Regions from separate parts of the Homo sapiens genome. Here regions 1, 3 and 4 are each linked to region 2. The links are contacts of gene promoters, found by promoter capture Hi-C in blood cells and fetal thymus (Javierre and others, 2016). All regions are on one chromosome and are shown on one strand. Each heading gives the region's core, a stretch centred on a gene start or on the middle of the fragment in contact. The rest is flanking DNA. Distances are from core to core; before and after follow the strand shown. Region 1 overlaps GPAT3 (glycerol-3-phosphate acyltransferase 3). Region 2 holds the start of LIN54 (lin-54 DREAM MuvB core complex component). Region 3 has its middle 81 kb from the start of HNRNPD. Region 4 holds the start of LOC105377310 (a long non-coding RNA gene).

Region 1 (3,531 bases), core at 319-2,818, 550 kb after region 2:
TTGAGTAGCTGGGTTTTGGCATGCATTTGATTTTATTGTTTGAGGTAGTATTGATGAATTTGACATAATGTAAAGGGCAATGAAGTTGATTGGAGACTCAGAGTTTTAAACAATGTAGGAAACCGGAATAGAATTTAAAGTCATCTTGACTGGGTGTGGTGGCTCATGCCTGTGATCCCAGCACTTTGGGAGGCCGAGGCAGGTGAATCACCTGAGGTCAGGAGTTCGAGACCAGCCTGGCCAACATGGTGAAATCCCATCTCTACTAAAAATACACAAAATTAGCCGGGCATGGTGGTGCATGCCTGTAATCTCAGCTACTAGGGAGACTGAGGTAGGAGAATCACTTGAATTGGGGAGGCGGAGGTTGCAGTGAGCCAAGATCATACCACTGCACTCCAGCCTAGGCGACACAGCAAGCCTCTGTCTTAAAAAAAAAAAAGAAAGTCATCTTGACAGTTTTGATGAATGAACCATCAGAGAGTGGGACTGCTTTCAAGATTGTTTACCCATAGCTGATGCTCTAAAATGGGATTAAAAAAACTGGGCTGGGTTACGTGATAAAGGTGTGCCACAGAATGACAGAGGCAGAGGTTTAGACAACCAGTGAAAAACAAGGCAAAACAGAACCTAAAAAGATGCTGCAGTGCTAACAGAACCAGCACATTCAACCACACAGCCATGACTGAACCACTCACCCTGGTTTCTGCCTGCAATATGAAAGGAGATCATTCTGGATGGGGGACATTGGCAAATGTTTTTTGGTGGATATACTGGTGTTGAAGCGGCCATGTGGAGATGGATTGGGATTAAATAAAGTGAGAAGACTGTCTAAACTGGAGGGATGAGGGAATAGCTTAATTAGCAATGGGAGTATATTTAGTTTATAGAAGGGACAAAACATAGAAATAAGGTTGTGGGAAAGCAAGATTGGGTTCTGGAGGCCCTAAAAACAAAGCAGTTTGGATTTGATGTAAAAGCGTAGATAAACCCAGGTTAACTGTTCATATTAAGGGTGGCAAAGAGGAAATTCTGAAGCCTGAAAAATGGTTAAGAGATCTGTGAATCTGTTAAGTGAGATCTGTGAAGGCTGATTACTGAATTTAGAGAAAAACCAAGGGATGACTCATATTAAGTTGGTTAACTAAGTTGGAAAGAGGAAGCAAACCCACATTTTCTCAAATTCTTAAGAGATGGAACAAAAAGATTGGCTTAAATGGAAATAAAAGAATTATATTGTATATAAGAAAACACTTCTTGTTAGCAAAAAATGATTAGAAAACTGGACCAGACTAGCAGGTAGATTATATGAGATATTTTCCAAGTAGGATAAATAGTTTAGAATTTTGGGAGAGGTATAAGTTATATAACAAAGCTCTTTTCATTTTCTTAACAGTGCCTGGTCATCTTGATTGTAAAAAGTTCTCTATAAAAATTTTAAATGTCTGTTTATTTTTAAATCCTTCTTTAGGCAGTGTTTATAATCATGGGACTATCTCATGTGGATTACTTAGTATATAAGCAGAGAAAGCAGGAAAGATTTTTTTTTTGTTTTTTGGAGTTAGAGTCTTGCTCTGTCACCCAGGCTAGAGTGCAGTGACCCAGTCTCTGCTCACTGCAACCCCTGCTTCCCAGGTTCAAGCGATTCTCCTGCCTCAGCCTCCCGAGTAGCTGGGATTACAGGCGCATGCTGCCACGCCTGGCTAATTTTTTGTATTTTAGTAGAGATGGGGTTTCACTGTGTTGCCCTGGCTGGTCTTGAACTCCTGAGCTCAGGCAATCTGCTTGCCTCGGCCCCCCAAAGTGTGGGATCGCAAGCGTGAGCCAGTGCACCCGGAGAAAGCAGGAAAGTTCTTCATCAGTTCTTTTAATCTGCCAGCAAGTAGCAACAATCGTTCCATTCTCCTTTGCCTTTTCTTCTTTCTCTAAAATGTTTTGGTAATGGAATTTCCCATTTTTCTCTGTCCTCTCACCGAAGCTCCTGGGACCCATGCATTCTCACATGAACAAAAAGATGAGGGGGGCAGGTGGCAAGGCATGCTTTGTACACAGTAGGCTGGGGAGATGGAAGTAGATAGCAGTGCTTCTGTTTGGCGAGAACAGGATTTTGGTCAGACAAGAGAGACAGCCAATTGGACTTGTGATTAGACAGAATCCTTTTCTTGGGTTGGAGTAGGAAAAAGCCAGTGATGTCTGGATGCCTGGGGAGCAGGCAAAACCTTTAGGCAGGAGCTTTGGTCTTTGTGAAGCAGCCTCAGAATAGTATGGTGGAAGCTCCACTGTGGACCCCCTTCACTGACTTTTCTAGACCAGGTGCCTGGTTTTCCTGCTTCTCTTCCTCAAAGCTCTGTTTCCTCCAAAGATTGGGCTGGTGAAAGAAGAGCTTTGATTGCCTAGAGGCCCATGAAGTTTCCAGAAGGTCCCTCAGGGAGCAAACCAGTAGACCTTTACATCTCCTGTGATTTCTGAGGAACAGCTTGTGAACAAGAGCAAGAGGAAAGTGCAATGTGGCCTGCTCTTCACCAGTTTGATCCTCAGCGTTTCTCCCTGGGGTGGGTGGACCTTGCCTCTGAGCTTCTCTGGTGTGGTGCCCAGGCAGCCGTACCTGCTCATTTCTTATTTATTTTTGTTTGAATTTTTTTTTTGTATTTTTTTGTATTTAAGTGACATCACAGTCATACGTACCTGCTCATTTCACCTGAGAAATAAGAGTGACTCTGAAGCATGAGGATGCAGGGGATACTGAGGACAGATTTTGTGGGTGGGATACTTTGGCCCCTTTACCTTTAAGTATCTGGGAAAAAGCACTCTATGCAGAGGACAGCAACTTGGAGGAATACTGGTGATACAGTTTGGATGTGTCCTCCTGCTCAAATCGCATGTTGAAATATAATCCCCAGTGTTGGAGGTGGGGCCTGCAGGGAGGTGGTTAGATCACAGGGGTAGGTTCTTATGAATGGTTCAGCACCATCCCCATGGTACTGTCCTCATGACAGTGAATGAGTTCTCCTAAGATGTAGTTATTTAAGCGTGTGGTACCTCCCCTCCGTCTCTCTCTCTTGCTCCTGCTCTGGCCATGTGGTGTGCCTGTCCCCACTTTTGCCTTCTGCCATGATTGTAAGTTTCCCCAGGCCTCCCCAGAAGCAGATGCTGCCATGCTTCCTGTACAACCTGCAGACCCGTGAGACAATTAAACCTCTTTTCTTATAAATTACCCAATCTCAGGTATTTCTTTATAACAATGTGAGAACAGACTAATACAACTGGCGTCAGGCCTTTACAAGGAGTTAATGTATTTTGGAGACAGTGTATACACATAGCAAATAACACCCTTCTTCAAATTATTAGAGAAAACAGCACAATGGGGGATGATTTCTAACATCCTTTTGCAACCAGCAGTACTCTCTTGGTTTAAGTGGAGAGAAACTGATAATGAATTCCAGAGGCCATGATTTTAATAAAACAAAAACAAAACAGAATTTTTTTAAAAAGCAGATTAATGCCAGAAAGAGATTACAGGCTTTGGCTATA
Region 2 (3,414 bases), core at 532-3,031:
AGCATCAGACAAATTATTTTTAAAAAATAATCATTATCGTCATCATTAAACCTTCTGAGTACCTCTAAGGTATTTCTCCTAAAAATTTTTTTGGGTCTCTTATTCTTCTAGTAAGTGAAAGCCAGACCTACAAACTATACACACCTATTCACACAAAATATTTCCCCTCTAAGTAAACTACAAAATTTGTGATATATGACACACTATGGCACAGTGTGTTACATATACTCTTTGTAGACAATTTGAATAAGGAAATAATATCACATATACTCTCTGTAGACAATTTGAATACGGAAATTTAGGGCTAATCATAAACATTACCCATGGGCATTCCTCAATACTAATCCTTCTGTTCATTATACACTCAATGTCATTGACCCAAAAAAGCTGGGGGAAAAGCATAGGGTCCAAATTAATGTATAAAAATTTTTTTGCCCAGCCTAAAAATTTGATTCACATGTAACTTTTCTGTAACACTAGTGTTGTGTGCAAGGAGACAGACTCCTTACGGATCTTTCAGCATAACCTAAAACTTAACATGGGTCTTCAGATAACCTAATAAAACAGTGGCTGTTATAGTCAATCAATCCAGCTCTCTAAACAAAGGGCTAGGCTAATCACTCCAGCATTTAGTGATTTAGAAATAACAGAGGTCTCAATTTATTTTTCCCAACTTAATGTACTCACAACAAATGCTTGCATCACCCCATCGCAACTCTCCTTCTTAACAATGAAGGTAAAACTCAGGACCAAAAGAGAGCTCCTAGAGCTGTATTTCATTTGCATTATAAAATCTACAGCAAAATTTTTCATAACTTTACTCTCTGAATTCATGAACTAGGTTGGCGGGGGCAGGAGGGTGAGTATAGAGAAGAACTTCCCTGAAAAGCATGAGTATAAAATATAACTGAGAGTATCTCAATTGTTATATGCCAAATGGCAGGGGCAAAGAGGTTAGTTACTCTAAGGATAACAGAGCATTAAAAATTTTTTTTCTAATTCTTACAAAACTGGTCCCTATTCTATAAAATGTGAACATCCACAACCCAACAAGTTACAGACTAGGATCTAAGACACAGATCTTAAATGCAGATAAAATGCCAATGCTCTGCCTCCCTAAAGAAACGTACAACCCCAAGAACTGCTGAACACCATCAAAGCAACACCCGCCAGAGTGGCTGTTTTAAACATTATATCAGGAAATCATGATAAGTGCTAGCGGTTCCTCTAGGCCTCAGCAGCAGCCTTAGGTATAAGAGCAAACTGGAGCCCTCTTAACACTCAAAGAATAATGTTGATGTCATGACGAGGCTACTGATTCTTCGCACTCCGGACAAGTCATTCCTTGATCCACCGCGCAATTCTTTCCCCACCCACCCCCATCCCCCCAAATAAAGAGATCTCCGGACAGAGAAGCCCTCGGGTACCCCATCCTCCTCTACCTCCAGCGGCTGCCGCTTTCTCCTCCCTCGGGCTCCGAGGTAGGGGCTCCAGAAGGTCCTGGGCAATCCCGAGCCCCGGCGGGGCTTGTTTTGCCCGTGCACGATAGCTCTGGCCAGCAGCTTCCTTTCCCAGTTTGTCCAAACTGGAGCGCTCCAGGGTACCCGGGGACCGAGAAGGGAGCCGGGGTGGCGACGTCGCCGTCGCCGCCGCCTCTGGTATGTCAGGGGCCGGGATTGTATTTCGAAAGATCCGCCATTTTCACCTCGTCATCACCATCACAGCTCAGCAGCTTCCCCGACAGCCGGAGCCCGGGCCGCCGCCGCCGCCGCCACCACCAGTAACCTCCCCCTTCCTCCTCCTCCCCTCCCCGCCCGCCCCACCCGGGAGGCGCACACCCACATATCCGGGGAAGCCTCCCGCCGCCCCGCCAACCTTCAAACGCACAAGGGCCGTGCAAGTGCACACGGGCTACGCCGAGACCTTTCACCCCCGGGCGGAGCACGGGCCCCCGCAGGGACGCCAAAGGAAGTCGCGCCACCTGCGGGGTCCCAAGTCCGGCATATTTTTGTTTGCAAGACCAAAAGCCATGCGGAGGGTGGCATAAGGACAATAAAGAACCCAAACTCTTTCATTTTCAGAGCAGCAACTTGAGAGAGATGGTGGAATGCGTTTCATTCACTGTGGCTATCTCAGGCACTAAAAACACTGTGAAAGACCTTTAATGTCATTCACCAACTTTGACATTTTACCCCACCCGCAGAACTACTTTGACAGGATGAGCTATTTCCATATGCATGTTCGACCTTTGACACCTTTGTCAATTACAGGCAGCAATCCTCATGCAGATGAAGTGGTCAAAATATCTAATTTAAAAAAATAAAGTTCTGAGCTATCTTCCTCTCCAACTTAATTTATCTGGTCATTTCTGTCCATGAACACTGCGACTTCCAATCTGTCATCGGTTTAAGACGTCAAAGCGCAACTAGATTTGAAATGATTGAACTAATTGTAGAAACATTCATGAATGATCGATTTCTAAAATATTGAAAATATAACTCTTAGCTAAAATTATTTGCCAAATGTTTTTTTAGGATCTAAGTCATCAAATTAAAAAAAAACCATCTGCTGCTGATATATTTGTTCTGTACAGTAAAAATAAACAGCTTGCTTCAGAACAAGATCCTAGAGCTACCTACTAGGTAGGTAAGAGTTACCAGCTCTTGTCATCAGTCAGTTGAATAAGTAACCAAAAGAGAACAGAGGTAATTCTTAATCATTTAAAAAATAACAAAACATAAGCTGCAAGGCTTCTGAAGAGATCAGCATTAAAAAAAAAAAAAAAGGAAACTGGCTGCCTTTGTCAATTTTAGAAAGAGTTAACCATCCAAAAGCTGAATTCTGTATCATTCAACCACAACATAAGCTCTGGGCAAACTGAATTTCAAGGCTGCGAACAGGGCCACTCTACTGTCTAAGTTAGTGTAGGAAGAGTAAGGTTGAAGTTGAAGTTGAAAAAGTCATTTCATTTCCCTACCTTGTTTCAATGGCAACTCCATATAAAAGTCGGTAGATTCAGCCTTCAACAAGGGCTGTCCACCACCCACCCCAATTGCTGTTTTTATATGCAGACTACCAGATGCTGAGAGTATAAAGTGTTCTCAATTACTTCATCTTTAAACTTCATTTCCCCACTGACGGCCCCGTCCATCCGCACTCTGCTTGGTTGTTTACCGTTGCTGGCCAAGCTAAGTCCCGGCCCGCTCCCTTCCCCCGTGCACCTCGGGAACATTATGACATTTGGCTGGTGGGCTTCGCGAGGAAAACGGACACGCACGAACAAGAGCCTGTACAAAGGGGCATAGGAAGAACGCGGCGGCGGGCAGTAGGGAGAGGAGGGACTGGCACAAAATGACACAGCAGCAAAACCGGTTCCCAGAAACCTGGGGCCGCCACGGGTGGCTTGTTGGGTCG
Region 3 (3,413 bases), core at 756-3,255, 720 kb before region 2:
CAAAGATATCACATCTAATGAATGTATAGCTTTGTGAAGTGTAGCAAGGGACTCTCTCCAGCAGCAATTATCATCTAGGCCAAAGAAAACGGAATACTGCCAGCCACCCCCACCATATGTCCTGTCCCATTCACCGCTTCCTCCATCTCTGCAAAATCAAACACCATCCCTGCAAAATCAAACACCATCCCAGCAAAATCAGACACCATCCCAGCTTCCATAGTAGTCATTTCCCTGTTTCTTCATTGCATCAGCACCCAAATACACATCCTCAGATGGGAGCCCAATCCTGCCCATTTTTTAATTTGATGTCTTTTAAATCTCTTTAAATACACTTATTCCCCCTCCATTTCTTTTTTTCTTTTTCCCTTGCAGTTTATTGTTGAAGAACTGACAGAGTTTCCCACAGTGTAGGTTTGCTGATTGCATACTCAAAATTCAGGTCACCATTTACCAAGTAGCCAACCCAGAGGCTCAACCCCTTCAGCAGGACTATAGTACGAGTGTTTTTGCATCAGATGGTACATGGTATCTGATTATATCTCCTTTTGAGATGTTAGCAGCTATCGATACTCATTGCTAGGCCCAAGAGCCACTAATTTATAAGGGATTGCAAAATGGTAATAATCTAGTTTTGTATTCACAGACAAAATTAGCTGAAATGATTTTAAAAAGAGATACTTTCCTTATTTGCTGTTTGCTTACCTGTGTTCTACATTCTAATTTGAATCTTTTGAAGACCTTTTTTTCTGAACTCCAGACTCGTATACCCACTTGTTCCACTCTGCTTGAATGTCTAATTAAAGTATCTCAAACATATCCAAAGCTAAGCCTCTTCCAGAAGTCTTCCACATATCACTTTTCTAGTTCCTCAGGCCTAAAACCTATAGTATTCTTGACTCTTGTCTCTTTTATATTGAAATCCAATCCATGGGCAAATCCCATTGCCTGTCCTCTCCAAATAGTAACCAAGCCACCATCATCTCCTGCCTTGATCACTCAATACAAAGCCATCTTTCTCATTTTGTTTCTGATTTCTAATGGTTACTTTTTTCTTTGTTTTTTAAACGGAGTCTCGCTCTGTCGCCAGGCTGGAGTGCAGTGGTGCAATCTTGGCTCACTGCAACCTCTACCTCCCAAGTTCAAGCGATTCTCCTGCCTCAGCCTCCCAAGTAGCTGGGATTACAGGTGCGCGCCACCATGCCCAGCAATTTTTGTATTTTTAGTAGACATGGTTTCACCATGTTTGCCAGGATGGTCTCGATCTCTTGACCCTGTGATCCGCCCACCTCGGCCTCCCAAAGTGCTGGGATTACAGGCGTGACCCACCGTGCCCGGACCTAATGGTTACTTTTTTTAAAAGTTTCATTAATAACATTTTTATTATGCAAAATATATATGCAGTACCAAAGTCAAATCTACAAAACAGTTCCTTCGAGAAGTCTAATTTGCATTCTGTTCCTCTCCTTACTACTCTTTCCCCCTATGTAGGTAACCATTTTGAACAAGTTTTTGGTTTATCTTTTTTTCTTTTCTTTTTTCCTATAAGAAATACATTCTATAAGAATACATTAGCCGGGTATAATGGTGCACACCTGCAGTCCCAGCTACTTGGGAGGCTGAGGTGGGAGGATGGCTTAAGCTCGGGAGGTGGAGGTTGCAGTGAGCAGAGATTACACCATTGCACTCCAGCCTGGGTGAGAGAGCCAGACCCTGTCTCAAAAAAAAGAACACAATATAGAGTACATACAGTAGCCCTCCCTTATCTGAGGGGGATACATTCCAAGACCCCCAGTCTTGTGGATACCTGAAACCACAGATGGTACCAAACCCTATAAAATATACTGTGTGTTTTTATACATATATGATAACATTTAATGTATAAATTAGGTACAATAAGAAATTAACAACAATAATAATAAAATAGAGCAATTATAACAATATTCTGTAACAAAAGTTATGTAAATGTCATCTTTCTTTCTCTCTCTCACAAAAACATCTCATTGCATTTTACTCACCTATTTTTGGACTGCGGTTGACCATGAGTAACAGAAACCACAGAAAGTGAAGCCACAAATAAGAGACTACTGTATGTACATTTGAACTTCCCTTATGGTAGCGTATGATGTGATAGATAAATGATAGCACATCATGCACACTTTTCTCCACCTGGCTTTTGTCAATTAATGATATCTCCTGAACATCAGATATTCAAGTTGTTTTTAAGATTATAGATGCTTTCTGAATATTACTCATAGTATTAATAACATACTAAGCATAAATTTAAAATATCTCTTTTTCACATGCAGTATCAATTTACTTCAAATTACATGTGTAACTTTCAGATAGATGGTACAATTAGCAACTCTTTTTCAGCGGACTCCACCAAATTTTTAAATAAAAATGTTTTCTAGGTGGAGATTATGTGTATAAATCAATATAATCATTAAAAACATTTGTAGCATATTGTATTCATGATATGATGTGAAGGATTTACACTGAAAGGGTTCATATGTTAAATTTTCTGCCTCTGAAATTATCTTTTCTTCCTGTTTCTGAGTTTCCTCATTCTCATATATATTCAATTTAGCATTTGACCATGTCTGTTGCCTGTTAACCATTTAGAGATAGTATTCACAAAGACTAAAGTCTAGGCACCAAGCAACTATTTTTGTTGCATATTCCTGCATTTTCTGGATTGTTGGGCAGTAAAGGATGGAGGCACTTTCCAAGGGGATTCTAGCCCCTACTGTGGGACTCTGAGAAGGCAGAAAGGTCTAGATGGTTGAGTGGTCATGCTAAGGTTCATTTTAACATACTGTGGTTCACTTTAACATTCATTCCTCCCTCCCCAACTCATCCTGAATATTTGGTATTTGCAGTTTACAAATTTTTAATTCTAATGTATAGAAAACCAAGATGTACCAAAATTAAATATGTCTACCTAAAATATAGACATACTAAAATTCAATGAACATAGTATTTTCTGTGTTTGTTTTTGTTTTACAGGCAGAGTCCCACACTTTCGCCTGGGCAGGAGTGCAATGGCGCAATCTTGGCTCACTGCAACCTCCACTTCCTGGGTTCAAGCGATTCTTCTGCCTCAGCCTCCCGAGTAGCTGGGATTGCAGGTGCCCGCCACCACACCTGGCTAATTTTTTGTATTTTTAGTAGAAACAGGGTTTCACTATGTTGGCCAGGCTGGTCTTGAACTCCTGACCTCGTGATGCACCCGCCTCAGCCTCCCAAAGTTCTGGGATTACAGGTATGAGCCACCGCATCCAGCCAAACATAGCATTTTCTATTTAGTCAGAATCTTGATTCAGTCTTAGAATGTGAGTGACTTCAAATATAGATATATATATAGGCCAGGCGTGGTGGCTCACACCTGTAATCCCAGCACTTTGGGAGGC
Region 4 (3,148 bases), core at 179-2,678, 540 kb before region 2:
CTGTCGTTTAAGCCACCCAGTCTGTAGCATTTTGTTACAGCAGCCCAAGCAGACAAACGCACAGCTCAAAACGAATGACCACAATTCTTTGTGAATGAGATCCATTATTCTGCTCCCTCTGGCATTCTTACCTGTGCTAGAAACCTGGGCTCTTACCTTCAAGGCCATCATCACTGAGCACAGGAGTGGGAGTTAGAAGGAGGGTAACTTAAATCACCACAGAGCTTCCTGAGCTTTTGCTGAGATTCAGGTAGTTTTGTAATTGCCCAGCTGGGTTCTTCTTGCCCACTGCCCAGAAAAGCTAATGCACTAAGAGCAGCAAGAGTGTTGCAGCAAATAATTTCATTATCACAGGGCCCACCAAGCAGATGGACGGGAAATAATTCTCAAATCCACCTCCCTGAGAATTCGGGGACTAGGGTTTTTCAAGGATAGTTTGGTGGGCAGGAGGCTAGGGAATGAGTAATGCTGATGGGTTGGGTCAAGGATGAAATCATAGGGGGTTGCTATTCTTTTGCTGAGTTGATATCTGGGTGCAACTTTTTTTAATGGGTGGTGCCAGTTGGTCCATACGAAATTCAAATCTGAAAAATATCTCAAACATCAGTCTTAGGTTTTATAACAGTGATGTTATCCACAGGGGCATTTGGGGGAAGTTACAAATCTTGTGACCAGTGGCTATGTGACTTCTGAGTAGTAAAGAGTTTTTTTTTTTTTTTTAGATGGAGTCTCACTCTATAGCCCAGGCTGGAGTGCTGTGGTGCCATCTCGGCTCACTGCAACCTTCACCTCCCAGGTTCAAGCAATTCTCTGCCTCAGCCTCCCGAGTAGCTGGGATTACAGGCACCCACAACCACACCCGGCTAATTTTTTTGTATTTTTAGTAGAGATGGGGTTTCACCATCTTGGCCAGGCTGGTTTTGAACTCCTGACCTCGTGATCCACCCACCTCAGCTTCCCAAAGTGCTGGGATTATAGGCATGAGCCACCGTGCCGGGCCAAGTAGTTTTAAACAGTCAAGTTATAAAACAATGACTGGTTAGAGTTTAACTCTGCCTACATCTTAGCAGAAGAAACAATGGCTGATTAGAGTTTGTGCCTACATCTTAGCAGAATTCAGGGCCCTATCACATTTCTAAGCTTGAGGCCTTTGGTTAGTTTTACAAAAGCAGTTTTGGTCCTGAGCAAGGAGGGGGTTAGTTATGAGAAGGAACTATTTTCATTTTTGTTTTAACATTAAACTATAAATTCGTAGGCCAGGCACGGTGGCTCACACCTGTAATCCCAGCACTTTGGGAGGCCAAGGTGGGAGGATCACTCAAGACCAGGAGTTCAAGACCAGCCTGGGTAATATGATGAAACCCCATCTATCAAAACAAAAGAAAACAAAACAAAAATTAGCTGGGCATGGTGGTTATGTGCCTGTAGTCCCAGCTACTCAGGAGGCTGAGACAGTAGGATTGCTTGAGGTTGGGAGGTCGAAGCTGCAGTGAGCCATGAGTGTGTCACTGCACTCCAGCCTGGGTGACAGAGTGAAACCCTGTCTCAAAAAATAAAAATAAAAGTAAATACAAAATTCCTCCTATAGTTAGCCTGGAATGAGCAAAGACAGCTTGTGAGGTTAGAAGGAAGATGGAGTCAGTTATGTTAGATTTCCCTCACTCATAATTTTTGCAAAAGTAGTTAGTCTTTCTTGATTAAGTCCTCCTGGTTGCTGTAAGCTTTTGCTTAGGTTCTAGAATTCTAAAAAAGTTGATTCTGGCAGTTTTTGCCAGTTTATTTATTGCTTTTTTGGAGGGACTTTTGATGTTCCTTATTCTTCCCTGTTCATGGATGTCACCCCTACATGCTTTTCTTACAATGTGACTTTTGCAGTCCTCTCACCAAGAGGTGGGGCCTATGTTCCATTCTATGAGACTGGGTGGGACTTACGACTGCTCCAACCAAACAAGGACAACAGAGGCCATGGTTTGTAACTTTCTAAGCTAGGTTATGATACAGCTTCTAGCTGACTCACTTTTTTCAAGAGCTGGGGTTAGACAATTGCTCTGGGGAAGTCAGCTACCACACTGTGAGAAGCCCAGATTCACCCATATGGAGAAAAACTAAGGCCTCAAGCTGACAGCCAGCCTTGACCTCCAGACACAAGAATAGGCTGGTCTTCAGATGCTTCCAGCGTCCAGCCTTCAAGCTCTCTAGTAGAGACCCCAGACTTCAGAGAAAAGCTGTCCCTGCTGTGCCCTGTCTGAATTCCTGACCCACAGAATCTGTGAGTATAATAAATGGTGGCTTTATGCCACTACATTTTGTGATAATCTGTTTGGCAGCCAACGTGAATCAAATAGTACTAAGCAGTGGACAGGATTTTTCATCCGTTTCAGCACAGCGAGGCTTTTAAAAGGCCTCTGCTGGGGTATGCAGTTAGGAACATCGAGATTGTCTCATCATTCCCCCGTCTCCTTCCAAGTGGTGGCATCTCTTATCTTCCTACATTTTGCAAGTGTCCCCATCTTCCCAGTCATACAGGCTTGAACCTTCAGAATGTCTTTGACGCTTTCTTCCCCTTCACCCTCCTCCACAGGCAGCAAGTCACACCTGTTGTCTTTTGCACAGTGCCTCTCAAATTCGTTTTCTTCCCATTCCTAGCAGCCTGTGCTTGAAGCTCCAGTAGTTATTCCTACAAAATAAAATGCCACAATAGAAAAAGACTGCTGATAATAAGCATAGTGCTTTCAGGCTTTATACTAGAAAAGGGTACTGCTTAAAGCCTTCCAAGGGCAAGTAATGATAATGCTTATGGATACGATAAGGAAGTCAAATGTATTTTGAGAAAGCTCTCTCCTAGGACAATGCAAAAAGCAAATCACCAGCTGGTCTCTATCTGGAGTACTTCTAGTCACTGAATCCACTTGTTGCTGTGTTTAGTCTAAGCCCTTTCCCCCCAGTGCTCTTAATTATCTCTGGCTACAAATCTAAATATAGTTTACAAAAATCTGGTCATCTTAGATGTTATTCTAATATTGACTGGTAAATAAATCTCTTAGTTCTGCTTTATACAGAAATATTCATTGAATACCTTACATCTTTTCTTTATTCTGACCCAGATAGCATTTGTGGGTGGAGTTGTTCTTGTTGCTGCTGCTGCTGC

What was found. Contacts are between HindIII fragments. The CHiCAGO score rates a contact against its expected background, and 5 or more counts as called.
Region 1: a contact is called between a fragment that was not itself captured here and the fragment with the promoter of LIN54 in region 2, in 1 of 17 cell types (neutrophils). The highest score is 5.2, in neutrophils.
Region 3: a contact is called between a fragment that was not itself captured here and the fragment with the promoter of LIN54 in region 2, in 1 of 17 cell types (neutrophils). The highest score is 5.2, in neutrophils.
Region 4: a fragment that was not itself captured here is called in contact with the fragment with the promoter of LIN54 in region 2 in 2 of 17 cell types (naive B cells and non-activated CD4 T cells); the score reaches 5.3 in naive B cells.

The regions. Positions count from the first base shown.
Region 1 is chr4:83,557,784-83,561,314 of GRCh38, forward strand. All of the region lies in intron 2 of GPAT3 (glycerol-3-phosphate acyltransferase 3), which reads left to right. Among named protein-coding and RNA genes, the nearest start is that of GPAT3, 23 kb to the left of the region's middle. The HindIII fragment of the contact is 4,090 bases long and covers 1-3,531 here.
Region 2 is chr4:83,009,042-83,012,455 of GRCh38, forward strand. It overlaps LIN54 (lin-54 DREAM MuvB core complex component), which reads right to left and starts at 1,782. Exons shown (of 13, transcript NM_194282.4): 1 at 1,443-1,782. RefSeq lists an enhancer at 1,622-1,721 and a silencer at 1,792-1,871. The HindIII fragment of the contact is 10,339 bases long and covers 1-3,414 here.
Region 3 is chr4:82,291,447-82,294,859 of GRCh38, forward strand. It overlaps the pseudogene VAMP9P. Among named protein-coding and RNA genes, the nearest start is that of HNRNPD, 81 kb to the right of the region's middle. RefSeq lists a silencer at 1,967-2,167. The HindIII fragment of the contact is 4,339 bases long and covers 1-3,413 here.
Region 4 is chr4:82,468,049-82,471,196 of GRCh38, forward strand. It overlaps LOC105377310 (a long non-coding RNA gene), which reads left to right and starts at 957. Exons shown (of 3, transcript XR_007058164.1): 1 at 957-2,269. The HindIII fragment of the contact is 581 bases long and covers 1,139-1,719 here.